3 separate regions of the Homo sapiens genome follow, and regions 2 and 3 are each linked to region 1. Evidence: promoter capture Hi-C in 16 types of primary human blood cells and fetal thymus (Javierre and others, 2016). All regions are on one chromosome and are shown on one strand. Each heading gives the region's core, a stretch centred on a gene start or on the middle of the fragment in contact. The rest is flanking DNA. Distances are from core to core; before and after follow the strand shown.

Region 1 (4,645 bases), core at 1,227-3,726:
CAATCACAGGCCAGCTGCTTGCAAACTCCACCCTTGAGTACGGGAAGAACACTTTTGATTGGAAGACAGTTGTGTTTACTACCGTGTGTGGTGCAAATTGGAAAGGTCCACATGCCTACGGTCCAAAGGAAATCTCTCTTAATGAGAAAAAAAGAAAACGGCCCATTCTCATCCTACACTGGTCATTGTCATTAATAGAACCTCAACAAAATACCAATTCTTGAACAATTTTGCAAGCTGGTGAAAAAATCTAAAGGCTCTGAGTTTTGGTCTGGCTGTTTTCTCATCTATGTCCCTGGATATACATGTAAGACAAGCATAAATGTATTCTCAAAATACAAACCTGCCTTTGCTTCTACATTCACACAGCCCTATGCAAGACCTCAACACAGCTGTAATGTTCTTTGCTTTAATTTCCAAGAATCACTGCAACTTTTTACTTGGTTTGAGAACCCAGTTCCGTGGGATCAGTGGTAAAATTATTCAGTATTTAGCTTAGTGGGTGTCCAGCAAGGAAGTGAGCTCCAAAATCCTCTGCCCTTAGGGAGCACAGCAAACGACAAAGTGAATGGGGAGCCATTTCAGGTGCAGAGCTCATTAGCAATTCATCTGATGGAGGAAACGAGACGACCACTGCAAGAACCAGAAAAAAATCCCAATGAATAGCTAGGGCAAAGTAGGCCTTCGGTCAAAGTATGCATATAATAGTGGATCTTAAGTATGTTTTGCCTCCAAGGTGGTAGAATGAATCTGAAATGGACACTTCTTTTCCCATCCCAGCCATCTTTTAAAGAAAGCGCAGAGGAATAGAGATCCAAATCCCAGTCTTAATCATCATTCCATCCCCTTAAATTTTTAGTATCTTTTTGCAAATTTGCCCCACTGAGGCCTTATAAATGTCCTAGTAACGTTTCTTATACAGCATGAAGAAAAATCAAAGCAAATGAACCCAAGTAGCAGAAGCAAAGCCTAAGCCATCCACAAAAAAAATCCATAAAGCTTGTATATTAGTGAAAAAGGACAGTCTAACACCGTTGATCAATAGGAAGAAAAATGAACATCGGAAGCCTACAACATTACTTCCAAATCTCACAAACTGCGTTCCCGTTTATATCTGCAAAAGCAAGTTCATCAAGAAAATTTACTTTCTGCTTGCTGATCTATTACATTCCAAAAGACCACCCCCTGCCCCAACACGCACACACACCATTTTTCATAGCCTTATCTCACCAGAGAAGCTAGGGCCCCTATCAAAATGAGGAAATAAAGTGGCTTGCCAAAACTCAAACACTATATTTTACCGCCACATTAACGAGAATAACACATCATGATCCCGAATGCTAGTTAAGTTGTATGACTGAACAACTTTAATCACAAAACACACCAAGGCATTCAAAAAGGGCCAAGCCCAAACACAAAGTTTCAAAACAAAACCTCTCCCAAGGTTGGGGGAGTAGCTGAGCTGGGAGCAAAAAGCACTACCCAGCAGCCCCGTTCGGCCACTAAGAAAGATCTCAAACTTAACAAAAACAGCCACAACTGCAGCTCCTGTCACCCAGAAGCGTTAAGGAAAGGAGAGGAGAGCTCGAGACAGTGCCGAGAGCTGGCCTTTCTGGAGACCGCCAGGCCGAGCCCAGCTCAGATGAGGAAGTAACTGCCAGATAAAAAAGCCCCGACCAGCTCCAACTGCAGCCTCCGTGCCTCCCATAACTGCCCACATTCCCGCCCCACTTGGGGCTCTGGGAGAAAAGGAACAGGGCGCAGGTCTCCTGGGAGAGGCTGGGGACCACAGGTCCGCGTCTTCGAGAGGGCAGCGGCAACACTGGCCGAACTCTGAGGCTCCCGGGAGCTCAAGATTCGAGAGCCTGCTCCGAAGGCGTGTTGGGGGGAACGCCGAGAAAAGGGTCGCCCAGGAGGCGGGGCCTGCTGGCTGCAAGCAGCAGCTCCGGACGCCCTGGCCGCCCCCCGGGGGAAACCGGGGCGCACACCCCGACGCGGAAGCCATGCCGGCAAGCGCTCGGGGTGCGGAGGTGCCGGCGGGGGGCGCTAAGGAGACCCGGGGGCACGGAAATGGGTCACCCCCATCCCACCGCCCCCTCACAAAGGCCCCCGGGGAGGCCGCCCGCAGGCCCCGCAGCCCCGGCCTCGAGTGCCCGACTCGGCCGCCACTCACCGCTAGGTCCTGGGGCACCGCCCCGCTCATGGCCCGCACCGTGCCGGCCCGCCAGGCTCGAGTGCGCAGCGCAGGCCCCGGATCTCCGCTCGCCGCTGCCGCCGCGGGAGCCGAGGCCGAGGCTGAGGCCGCAGTGTCCGCGAACAGCAGCAGCAGCCGCTTGCCCACCGGGGAGGCCGCCGCGTCCGCCATCGCCGGGGCCGGCCTGACCCGCGCTCCCGCCCGCCGCCTCCCACCACCTCCGCCGCCAAGCGCCCGATCCGCCCGCAAGGCCTCCCTCCGCACCACCCGCGGCCGCCGTTCCCCCCCACCCCCCCCAACAGCCACCACCAACCACCGGCGCAGCGCAGCGCCCCCCGTGGCCGGGAGCGGAGCCGCAGCCTGGGCCCCGCACAGCGCCCCCCGCGCTCTGGAGCGGGGCGACAGCTCCTGGCCCCTCGCAGCGCTCCGCCCCAATCTCCCCGGGGCCTGCAGTGCCCCCTGCGGTCTGGAGGGGAATTGCAGGTCCGGCCGGGGTAGGGAAGTGGGCGGGTCCTTCAGCTTCCCCATGGCATCATCCCTGGTCTCAATCTTCCTTCAGGGAGTCGTATATATGAGAGGGCTTTAGCTTGCTCTCCTCGGATACCAAAGACATTTACGGGGTAAGGGGGTGAGGGGCAAGGTACCTAGAGAGTGGATGTTTTGAGCTATTTAGTGTCTCCAATACCCCCATTGATTTCCTATCCTGAAAATATGAGCTCCTACCTGCTGTCTTGTAGGAAATGTTCTCCCCATTGGTCCATGAGACACAATGTCTTCCTTCTCAATGGCCCATAACAGCACCATCCCATTCTATACTGCCAGCACTTCTTAGGTTCCTTTCCAATTGGCCAATGTATTACTTCCATTGGATGTATAATGCCACTCTTTCCACTGACTGAAGGCCAACGTGCCCCCCAACATCTTGGTGTTTTTCCTAAAACCGACCTAACTTCTTCCCCTTCCTAGTCTGCCAATGTTATTAAGTCTACGTGTTTCTCCATTCAACTCTTAGGGGAACTGGAAATAGACCAACAGTAAAGGGGTTCTCTTAGTAGCACTCCATCTTACCATGGAATTAGTGGGGCTGGGGGCAAAGAAAATTCTGTAACTCTTATCTGAATGCATTTAATACAGGTGTGGGAGACTGATAGCTCCTGATTAGAAAAGGAGCCTGCAGAGAAAGTGAGATGCTGAGATTTTTGGCTAGATTGTTACCCACAATAAGCAACAGGAAATTGCCTCAATCATTTAAAGCTGGCAATATCAGGGACTAGCACATTCCATGGTCTCATGGATGCAGAGACTGAGTATACACAAAATGGATACAAAAGATAAAGGGTATAGTAATAACCCATGACTGTTGTTCTAAAAGTGACTTTTTGATTTTCCCTACAGACAGGAAATAGTGGTAGCTGGTTCTTTCTCCAAGGCTTCTGTGCCTACCCCAGCTATCTCCTGTCCATAACCTTGTCTACACCCTTGACCTACTTTTCTTGTAACAAAGGCTTGGGGAGAGGGGTAACCAACTATTGACTTTATACTTTTACTAAAGTATAAAACATATAGGAAAATCATTCTAGAACCAACCCTGTGGAGCACCAAGGAAACATTCCTCCCTCCACTTCTTTTTAACTTCCATCTCCCACAGCCAACCTGAGGCCTGACTCAGAATGTTTTTCTGGGCTGAGAGCCACCTCTTAAAGCACATGGCCCATAAGCTGTAGTTGGTAGGAGGGGAACAAGGGTGAATCCATACAAGATCTATCTGCCTTGCAATTTTTCTATCAAAATTATCTGCTGGGATTTTCTCCCATACAGAGATTTAACTACTGCCCCAATGTCCAAGGCTAGTTTCTCACAGCAGAGAGACAGAAATGTACCTAAGTTCACGGATGGGAAAGGCAAAAGGGAAATGCATTCAACAAATGTGACCAGCACTTTTCATGTGCCAGGAACTTCCCAAAGTGTTGGGGACACAATATTGAATAAAACAAAACTCTTGCCCTCATGGAGTTTACGTTCTTTCCTATATTAACAAGACTTCAGGAATGAAAAATAAAATCACACTTGGCCTCACAGAAAATAGCAGAAAAATCCAACAAAAATAAACTCAAAAGAAAAAAAGGGGGAAACAAAGTCATTTTAGATGTTCAAACTTTACCCCTGCTCAAGCAGTAGGTGAAATGAAACATCAGTTTTAAAGAAAAAAAACCCTGTAATTCTAAGCTTCTTTAACCACATGCCACTGCCCACCACTTCCCCAAAGCCCTTCCTTTGTTTCCAGGGCAGGTGACAACCCTCACTTTTTCTAGGGTGTATGTGCACCCCTGCAAAGATTCCTGCTCCAGGTAGTCAAGTCAGTCCTGTCCTGCACACACTTCATTGGTATTCAATGATGAGTGCCACCAATTTGAAGCAGGAAACCAGGACATAAGCTAAGCAACTTGACTC
Region 2 (4,853 bases), core at 1,941-4,440, 310 kb after region 1:
TATATCATGTAGATAGTAGTCCTTTTTGGGTTGAATGTTTTGTAGCTAACTTTTCCAGTCTTTTGGCTTGAACTTTCACTTTTTTAATGGTGTCAAATGTAAAATAGCTGAATTTATCAATCCTTACTGTACCGTGAAAAGGTTGTGTTTTATTTAAGAATCACGAAGACATTGTCTTATATTATCCGTTTTTTTTTTTTTTTTCGAGATGGAGTCTTGCTCTGTCGCCCAGGCTGGAGTGCAATGGTGTGATCTTGGGTCACTGCAACCTCCGCCCCCTGGGTTCAAGTGATTCTCCTGCCTCAGCCTCCTGAGTAGCTGGAATTACAGGCGTGTGCCACCATGCCTGGCTAATTTTTGTATTTTTATTAGAGACTGGGTTTCACCACATTGGTCAGGCTGGTCTCGAACTCCTGACCTCAGGTGATCCGCTCACCTTGGCCTCCCAAAGTGCTGGGAATAGAGGCATGAGCCACAGCGCCCGGCCTATTATCTTTTTTTAAAAGCTTACTTTAAAATATCTTTTTTAGGCTGGTGCAGTGGCTCATGCTTGTAATCCTAGCACTTTGGGAGGCTGAAGTGGGAGGATCGCTTGAGGCCAGGAGTTCAAGACCAGCCTGGGCAACATAGCAAGACTTTGTCTCTACCAAAAAAATAAAAAATACATAAAAAAAGCTAGGTGTGACAGCATGTGCCTATAGTTCCAGCTACATAGGAGGTTGAGGTGGGAGGATCACTTGAGCCCAGGAGTTCTGGGCTACCATGAGCTATAATGGAGCCACTGTACTCCAGCCTGGGAGATGGAGTGAGACACTTTCTCTAATAAAAATACCAAAATACCCCCCTTTTCATTGTGCAATATTCATATAGAAAATGTCCTGGCTGGGTATGGTGGCTCATACCTGGTAATCCCAGCACTTTGGGAAGGTGAGGCAAAAGGATTGCTTGAGCCCAGGAGTTTGAGACCAGCCTGGGCAACAGAGAGAGATCCCATTTCTGTTAAAAAAAGAAAAAAAAGAGGCCGGGTGCGGTGGCTGACGCCTATAATTTCAGCACTTTGGGAGGCCGAGGCAGGCGGATCATGAGGTCAGGAGTTCGAGACCAGTCTGACCAACATGGTGAAACCCTGTCTCTACTAAAATACAAAAAATCAGCCGGGCGTGGTGGCGTGCGCCTGTAGTCCCAGCTACTTGGGAGGCTGAGGCAGGGGAATTGCTTGAACCTGAGAGGTGGAGGTTGCAGTGAGCCGAGATCGCACCACTGCACTTCGGCCTGGCGACAGAGCAAGACTCTGTCTCAAAAAAAAAAAAAAAAGAAAGAAAGAAAAAAAAGAATAATGCCCGAACAAGGTAAACACAGGTCAATAATTTATTCTTATTTATTATTTATTTTTTGAGACAGGGTCTCTCTCTGTCATCCAGGGTGGAGTGCAGTGGCACAATCATGGATCACTGCAGCTTTGACCTGGCCTCAAGCAATCCTCCCACCTCAGCCTCCTGAGTAGCTGGGACTACAAGTGTGTTACCATGCCTGGCTAATTTTTAATTTTATTTTTTATAGAGACAGGGTCTCACTATGGTGCTCAGGCTGGTCTCCAATTCCTGGCCTCAAGTGATTCTTGCTGGCCTGGTCAATTTCTTCTTTTGTTGTTGTTCTTTTTTATTTGAGATGGAGTCTGGCTCTGTTGCCCAGGCTGGGATGAAGTGGCACGATCTCAGCTCACTGTAACCTCCACTTCCTGGGTTCGAGTGATTCTTCTGCCTCAGCCTCCCGAGTAGCTGGGACTACAGGCATGCGCCACCACACCCGGCTACTTTTTGTATTTTTAGTAGAAACAGGGTTTCACCATGTTAGCCAGGCTGGTCTTGAACTCCTGGCTTCAGGTGGTCCACCCTCCTCAGCCTCCCAAAGTGCTGGGATTATAGGCATGACCCACCGCGCCTGGCCCCTGGTCAATTTAATACAAAGCAAACACCCATGTAACCACCACAGCTCATATCAAGAATAAGAGCATTCTTATTTTTGTGTCTCCACGAACTCTTGCCCCTCGTTCCCAGAAGAACCAGAACCAGTATCATGATGTCTATGATAGTCACTTCCTGGCTTTTTTTTTTTTTCTTTTAAGTTTTTCCCCTAATTTGTATCCCTAAACATGATGATTTAGTTTTGCTTTTTTTGGGAAACACTGTTATATTTAATTTCAATTAAAGAAAAAACTTAAAAACTTAAGGAGCTAGTTTTTATTTTTAAACTTTTTGAAATATAAAATACATATGGAGAAGTATACAGATCATGAGTACAGCTCACTGAATTGTCCCTAGGTGAACATATATGTGCAACTTCCCCCTAGGTTAAGAAATGGAATATCTTCTCATGACCCCTCCTTATTATTGATTTCTTCCTTCCTCAAAAAGACTTCCCTCCTTAACCACAATTCTGACTTCTAAAATGATAGTTTAGTTTTCCCTGCTTTTGAACTGTTTTTAACGGATTCATACAGTATTTGTTTGTGTCTGGCTTCTTTCATTTATTTTTGTGATTCATCACATTGTTGTTTGTAGCTGTAGTTTGTTCATTTTCATTGTTTACATGGTATGAAGATACCATACTGTATTAATCATTCATCATTCTATCATTGCTATCTACCTGAGCTTGAGTTTCCATTTTTTTCACCAATATAAAAAATGCAGCTATGAACTTCAGGGTCTTCCCCTGTTGTGCAGGCTGGAGTGCAGTGGTGCAGTCATAGTTCACTGTAACCTTGAACTTCCGGGCTCAAAAAATCCTCCTGCCTCAGCCTCCTGACTAGCTGGGATTACAGGTGCAAACCACTGTGCCTGGCTATTAATATTTTTTTTTTTTTTGAGACAGGGTCTTGCTCTGCCACCCAGGCTGGAGTGCGGTGGTGCTTACTGCAGGCTTGAATTACCAGGTTCAGGTGATTCTCCTGTCTCAGTACCACCCCCCACCCCCAATTTTTTTTTTTGAGATGGGGTCTTGCTATGTTGCCCAGGCTGGTTTCAAACTCCTGGCCTTAAGCAATCCTCCTGCCTTGGCCTCCCAAAGTGCTGGGATTATGGGTGTGAACCACCATGCCCAGCTCTTTGACTTTTAATTAGGAATTAATATATTTACACTGATTGTAATTACTCATATTTGAATTTATTTCTGCTATCTAATGTTTTACTATTTGTCCTCCTTAAACATTTTTTATCCATTTTTAAAATTAAGATCTTCCTATTTTATTTTATCCCCCTAATAAACTGGAAGTTATATATACTGTTTAATTTCTTGTACTGATTATGTAGAAATTTTAACATGTATATTTAACTCAACAAATTATAGACTTATTTAGCCTCCTCTTAAACAATACAAAGCCTTCTAATACTTTAATTTACCCTCTCACAATAGTATATGTTAAATTATTGAACAATAGTAGAATTTAGATATTGTTGCCATTATTTTGGATAGTGTTTAGATTTACAGCAAACATGCAAACAATTTTCTTTGTTCACCATTACTTCTCGCATTTTGGATCTTCCTTCTGGAAGATGGTAATTTTCTCTTAACATTTTGAAGATACGCTGCAGTATCATTTGGCTTCTATTGTTACTATTGAAAGGTCAGCTGTCAGCCAAATTATCTTTTCTTTGAAGATTAGTGTCTTTTCTTTTCTTTTTTTTTTTTTTTTTTGAGATGGAGTCTTGCTCTGTTGCCTAGGCTGGAGTGCAGTGGCGCAATCTCAGCTCACTGCAACCTCTGCCTCCCAGGTTCAAGTGATTCTCCTGCCTTAGCCTCTCGAGTAGCTGGGATTACAGGCGTGTGCCACCACACCCAGCTAATTTTTGTAATTTTAGTAGAGGCAGGGTTTTGCCATGTTGGTCAGGCTGGTCTCGAACTCCTGACCTCAGGCAATCTGCTCATGTTGGCCTCCCAGAGTGCTGGGATTACAGGCGTGAGCCACTGTGCCCGGCCTAATGTCTTTTCTTGCTGCCTAATTTTAAGATCCCCTTTCTCTCTGGGTACTAAATTTTATGTGTGCATTTTATACTTTTCAGCATGGCAAGTTTTGGTCTTCCAGAATTTAGGATATTTACCTTCAATTCTGGAAAATGTTCAGCCACTATTTCTTTGAATATTGTCTTCCCTCCATTCTATTATCTCCTTCTTTTTTGTTTGTTTTGTTTTTGAGACGGTGTCTACGTCGCCCAGGCTGGAGTGCAGTGGCGCGATCTCGGCTCACGGTAATCTCCGCCTCCCAGATTCAAGCAATTCTCCTGCCTCAGCCTCCTGAGTAGCTGGGATCACAGGCATGCACCACCATGCCGAGCTAATTTTTTTTAATATTTTTAGTAGAGACAGCGTTTCACCATATTGGCCAGGCTGGTCTGGAATTCCTGACCTTGTGATCGGCCCGCCTCGGCCTCCCAAAGTGCTGGGATTACAGGCTTGAGCCACCGTGCCCGGCCTTTTTTTTTTTTTTTTTTTTTTTTTGAGACAGAGTCTTGCTCTGTCGCCAGGCTGAAGTGCAGTGGTGCAATCTCGGCTCACTGCAACCTCTGCCTCCTGGGTTCAAATGATTCTCCTGCCTCAGCCTCCCCAGTAGCTGGGATTACAGGCATGCGCCACTACGCCTAGCTAACTTTGTATTTTTAGTAGAGATGGGGTTTCACTATGTTGGTCAGGCTGGTCTTGAACTCCTGACCTCGTGATCCGCCTTCCTCGGCCTCCCAAAGTGCTGGGATTACAGGCTTGAACCACCGTGCCCGGCCAGGTTGGTTTCTTTCTATGAAGGCCTAAAATAGGGATGTACACCTTCATGTTTTGGAGCTTCTCTGCTGATGAGCTTGGGG
Region 3 (4,955 bases), core at 485-2,984, 340 kb after region 1:
AGTGCATTTTGACTTCTTATAGTTGGCACTAGTGTGGAAACACAGGTACAGTCATGCTGGAGACAGTAGGATGAGAATTAAAAAAAAAAAAAAAAAAAAAAGAGAATTGGGGCCAATGAGTAATAGATGAGGAAAACATCCTCCAGCAATTAAGGGATTGAGTTCCTTTTTTCCAGCTCCTCTTCTCCACCTCTTCTCCATTTCATAAGTGAAATACAAAGCCCTAAGGCATTTGGCCCCAGTAGAGGAAGTGAAGAGGTTTTGAATTGTTGTATTAAAAAGGTGATGTGGGTGGAGTAATGTGAACCTGGCAAAATATCAGAGCTTTGCTTTTTCCTTTATTGAAAAAAACCTGTTATTATTGTTTTATAGATTATAATAATGAAGATGAATTTGGAAGAAAGTTGAGGTTCCTCTTGCAACAGCTTCCACCTGTTAATTATAGTTTGTTAAAGTTTCTGTGTAGATTTTTAGCCAATGTAGCATCACATCATGAAGAAATTTGGTCCGCAAATTCTTTGGCTGCTGTCTTTGGTCCAGATGTCTTCCAGTAAGTTGTTTAAAAAATTTTTGTTTAATTTTTAAAAATTAGATATGTGAGGCCGGGCACGGTGGCTCATGCCTGTAATCCCAGCACTTTGGGAGGCTGATGCGGGCGGATCACAAGGTCAGGAGATTGAGACCATCCTGGCTAACACGGTGAAACCCCGTCTCTACTAAAAATAAAAAAACTAGCTGGGCATGGTGGCGGGTGCCTGTAGTCCCAGCTGCTCGGGAGGCTGAGACAGGAGAATGGCGTGAACCCGGGGAGGCGGAGCTTGCAGTGAGCCGAGATCGCGCCAATGCACTCCAGCCTGGGTGACAGAGCGAGACTCCATCTCATAAAAAAAAAAAAGAAAAATTAGATATGTGAAATGGAATCATTATATTGTCTCCCAAGGATCGCAGGTTGCTTGATGAACAATTATTTTTTATAGTAGATATGATTAATTCTTACAGCATTTTTGTGAACAGGGTACAAATTAGGTAGGTTTTACAGATGGGAGAATGGAAGCACAGAATGGTAACATAAATTGCCCATGTTCATAAAGTATCTCATTGGTTGTCTTCTACCTTTACCTGTGATTGATTTAAGAACTCTCAATTCAATTTGGACTTCTATTCTTAGCATTTACACAGATGTGGAAGACATGAAAGAGCAAGAAATAGTGAGCAGGATAATGGCTGGACTTCTGGAAAACTACTATGAGTTTTTTGAGAATGAAGAGGAAGATTTTTCATCTAATGATTTGAGTTCAATTACTGAACAGGTGAGAATATTCTATTTGGAGGGATAATTTTTTTTTTTTTTTTTTTTTTTAAGAATAATATGCTCTTAAAGACTTGCCACAGACATAAGTGGAATTTAAATCTGACCTGGAAGTAATTATCTTGGTTATTATATGTAATCAGTAGGTGGCACATTCATGATTTTTTTCCTGAACAACATCCTGTCCTCCATAATTTGATTAATAAGGAAAAGGCATTAAAATTAGAGTATATGGTAGAGATTTTTTGTTTCTTTTCCTATTGTTTATTTTGTAAGGATAATGCAGTGTTTTGGTTTTTTGCAGAGAAACTGCTAGCATAGAGGAATATAGGCAAGGGGTGAGAAATTTAAAGTAGAGGGAAAGATTCGGTACACATTTTTAAAAATTTGAAGTTTTTCTTCAATAATAGAGCAAATCAACACAATAGTATAATTGTCACTAATGGGAAGCATCTGGATATTAATAGTTTAAGTGGCAGGTAATTTTTAAATTCTGGTGACTCTAGAATATTAAAATCTCTTTCTGAGGTTACATTATAATCTTTTAAAAAATTGTTTTATTATTTATAGAGACAGGGTCTTCTTATGTCGCCCAGGTTGGTCTTGAACTCTTGGCCTCAAGCAGTCCTCCTGCCTTGGCCTTCCAAAGTGTTGGTATTACAGGTGTTAGCCACCACACCTGGCCCCACAAAATGATTTTAAAAAGTGTGATATAACATGTTAAAATAGGCCAGGCGTGGTGGCTCATGCCTGTAATCCCAGCACTGTGGGAGGCTGAGGTGGGTGGATCAGCTGAGGTCAGGGGTTTGAGACCAGCCCGGCCAACATGGTGAAACACTGTCTGTACTAAAAATATAAAAATTAGCCAGGCATAGGGGCATGTGCCTGTAATCCCAGCTACTGGAGAGGCTGAGGCAGGAGAATTGCTTGAACCTGGGAGGCGGAGGTTGCAGTGAGCCAAGATCGTAGCACTGCACTTCAGCCTGACCGACAGAGCAAGACTCCATCTTAAAAACAAACAAACAAAAATGTTGAAATAATAGTATCTCTGTACCAAAAAGGTGTGAACTGAATAAGTTTTTATTCTCAGTTTTAAAAGCCTTCTTTAAAAATTTTTTTTGATATTTTGCTGTTGTGCCCAGGCTTTTATTAATCAACCACAATAATTCCCACCCCTGCCCCAACCCTTTTTTTTTTTTTTTTTTTGAGACAGTCTCGCTCTGTCGCCCAAGCTGGAGTGCAATGGTGTGATCTTGGCTCACTGCAACCCCTGTCTCCCAGGTTCAAGCAATTCTCCTGCCCCAGCCTCTCGAGTAGCTGGGATGACAGGCGCTCGCCACCATGCCTGGCTAATTTTTGTATTTTTAGTAGAGACAGGCTTTCGCCATGTTGGCCAGACTCGTCTCGAACTCCAGGCCTCGGGTGATCCACCCACCTCTACCTCCCAAAGTGCTGGGGTTACAAGCATGAGCCACTGCACCTGGTCCCCTTTTATACTTCTGAAAACTTTTTTTTTTTTTGGCCAGTGTTTCCTTGCTTAGATTACCAGATGGATATTAAGTACATCCTCTCAACTTTCACTAGTTAATAAAATACGTAGATGGGGAAAGAGGATAATTTCCCATTAGATCTACTTTAAAACCTGATCTATCATTTGAGATTTTCACCTTTGTGTTGAAATCTTACCTCTCAGTTAATCACTTAGGCCAGTGATTTTTCAGTCCTTTTCATTAGCATTATACATGATGTGGGATAGACTAGGAAAGACATTTATAAACACAACGAATTATACAGAATCTGCTGCATGTACTTTACATGTGAACTTAATGGTTCACTAACTGTTTTGTTTTTATTTTTGTTTTTGTTTTTGAGACAAAGTCTTGCTGTGTTTCCCAGGCTGGAGTGCAGTGGTGCGATCTTGGCTCACTGCAACCTCTGCCTCCTGGGTTCAGGCAATTCTGTTTCAGCCTTCCAAGTAGCTGGGATTACGGGCACATGCCACCACATCCGGCTAATTTTTGTATTTTTAGTATAGGTTGGATTTTGCCATGTTGGCCAGGCTGGTCTCGATCTTCTGCCCTCAAGTGATCCACCCACCTTGGCCTCCCAAAGTTCTGGGATTAAAGGCATGGGCCACCGCGCCTGGCCTAACTATTGTTAATAATGACTTTTTAGTGACCCATCTGACTAGTGAGCTTGATAGACCTGTGGTTGAGACCTCCTGCTTTAGGTAGTTTGGATGGTGGATACTCTCTTCATTTATATAAAAAGTGATGTTACATGTAGAAGCTAGGATCTATGCTATTAAAGAAATGACAACAATTTCAGTTATAATGATAGGCATTATTGCTTATTATGTATAGACATTGCTGAAGAGGTTACATATATTAATCCTTTCAACCAGCTCTGTGAGGTAGTTAGTATAGCATCTCCATTTTATACTTAAGACTTGGACAAGTTAAGTAAGTTGCCAGAGAAAGTTAGGGACAAGTAGGGATGTGTGAATATAGGTATTTCTGCCTCTGAGGCCTAGCTTTTAACTACTGTATTATACTTTATTTAATTTCGAAACCAAATCTTACTCTGTCACCCAAGTTGGAGTGCAGTGTCACAATCGCGTCTCTCTGCAGCCCCGACCTCCTGGGCCCAAGTGATTCTCCTACCTCAGTCTCTCAAGTAGCTGGGACTACAAGCACATGCCACCATGCCTGGCTAATTTTTGTATTTTTTTGTAGAGACAAGGTTTCACCACGTTGCCCAGGCTGGTCTGGAACTCCTGGGTTCAAGGGTTCCAACCCCCTCAGCCTCTCAAAAGTGCTGGGATTATAGGTGTGAGCCACCGACCATACCCAACCTGTATTATACTTTAAAATAGGCACTCTGTACTTGTTGATTAGGAGTGTGATAGAATATCACAGTGTAATGACTTTTCTTTTGGTTGCAGTTTTACTTTCTGATAGTATTCTAGTAACTGTATTTGTCCATCAGGAAAAACACCACTGTTACATGTAGTAGTAAACACATTTATTCTAGATATTTCTATTGCATTTTTCTAGCATGGAGAAAAAGCATACTTGCATTGCTCAGAGTCTTTAATGACTAGTATTAGTTTATATTAAGCAATTCTATAGATAGTTTCTTCTTTGGGATAACTTAAAAACTCATTTGAAAATATTTTGCTGGTTTTCCTTCTCTAATATTTCAGTATCTTTTTATTAGAGTGATTACCTACGTAGCCAGTTTCATAATGGAGGACATTTTAGAGCTCCTGCTAGCAAGATAATTATAACCTTGACTTGTGCTTACTGGTCAAAATATGAGTTCTTCCTTGTTATAGGATTCCATCTCTTCATGAATAATTCAATCTGAATCACTTAGAAGTTAGCTGACATTTTCTAAAATGTAGCTAACATCTTAAGGCAACATTTTTTTTGCGCTTCTTTTTTCACACTTACTATATTAAAATGACTTGTTTAAGGCACCTGGAAAATCAGATCAATTAAAAGTCTGTTGTAAGTGTTACATTTACGAAACTAGTTAGAAAATTAAGTTTTCTTAATGTTAACTATACCTTACAGGCTTACTTATATTCCTAGATATACTAATTTTGCAATATACTAATATACTAATTTGCAACTAGTGATAC

Evidence for each region. Contacts are between HindIII fragments. The CHiCAGO score rates a contact against its expected background, and 5 or more counts as called.
Region 2: a contact is called between a fragment that was not itself captured here and the fragment with the promoter of KDM3B in region 1, in 1 of 17 cell types (neutrophils). The highest score is 8.9, in neutrophils.
Region 3: a contact is called between a fragment that was not itself captured here and the fragment with the promoter of KDM3B in region 1, in 1 of 17 cell types (neutrophils). The highest score is 5.2, in neutrophils.

What each region holds. Positions count from the first base shown.
Region 1 is chr5:138,350,516-138,355,160 of GRCh38, reverse strand. It overlaps KDM3B (lysine demethylase 3B), which reads right to left and starts at 2,476. Exons shown (of 24, transcript NM_016604.4): 1 at 2,174-2,476. The coding sequence starts at 2,365. RefSeq lists an enhancer at 1,537-1,636 and silencers at 1,887-2,356, 2,437-2,676, 2,697-2,776. The HindIII fragment of the contact is 3,421 bases long and covers 1,002-4,422 here.
Region 2 is chr5:138,039,904-138,044,756 of GRCh38, reverse strand. It overlaps a transcript of FAM13B not described here. Among named protein-coding and RNA genes, the nearest start is that of FAM13B, 9.3 kb to the right of the region's middle. The HindIII fragment of the contact is 5,363 bases long and covers 509-4,853 here.
Region 3 is chr5:138,007,363-138,012,317 of GRCh38, reverse strand. It overlaps FAM13B (family with sequence similarity 13 member B), which reads left to right. Exons shown (of 24, transcript NM_001385994.1): 5 at 373-550; 6 at 1,169-1,310. Among named protein-coding and RNA genes, the nearest start is that of FAM13B-AS1, 23 kb to the left of the region's middle. The HindIII fragment of the contact is 8,248 bases long and covers 1-4,955 here.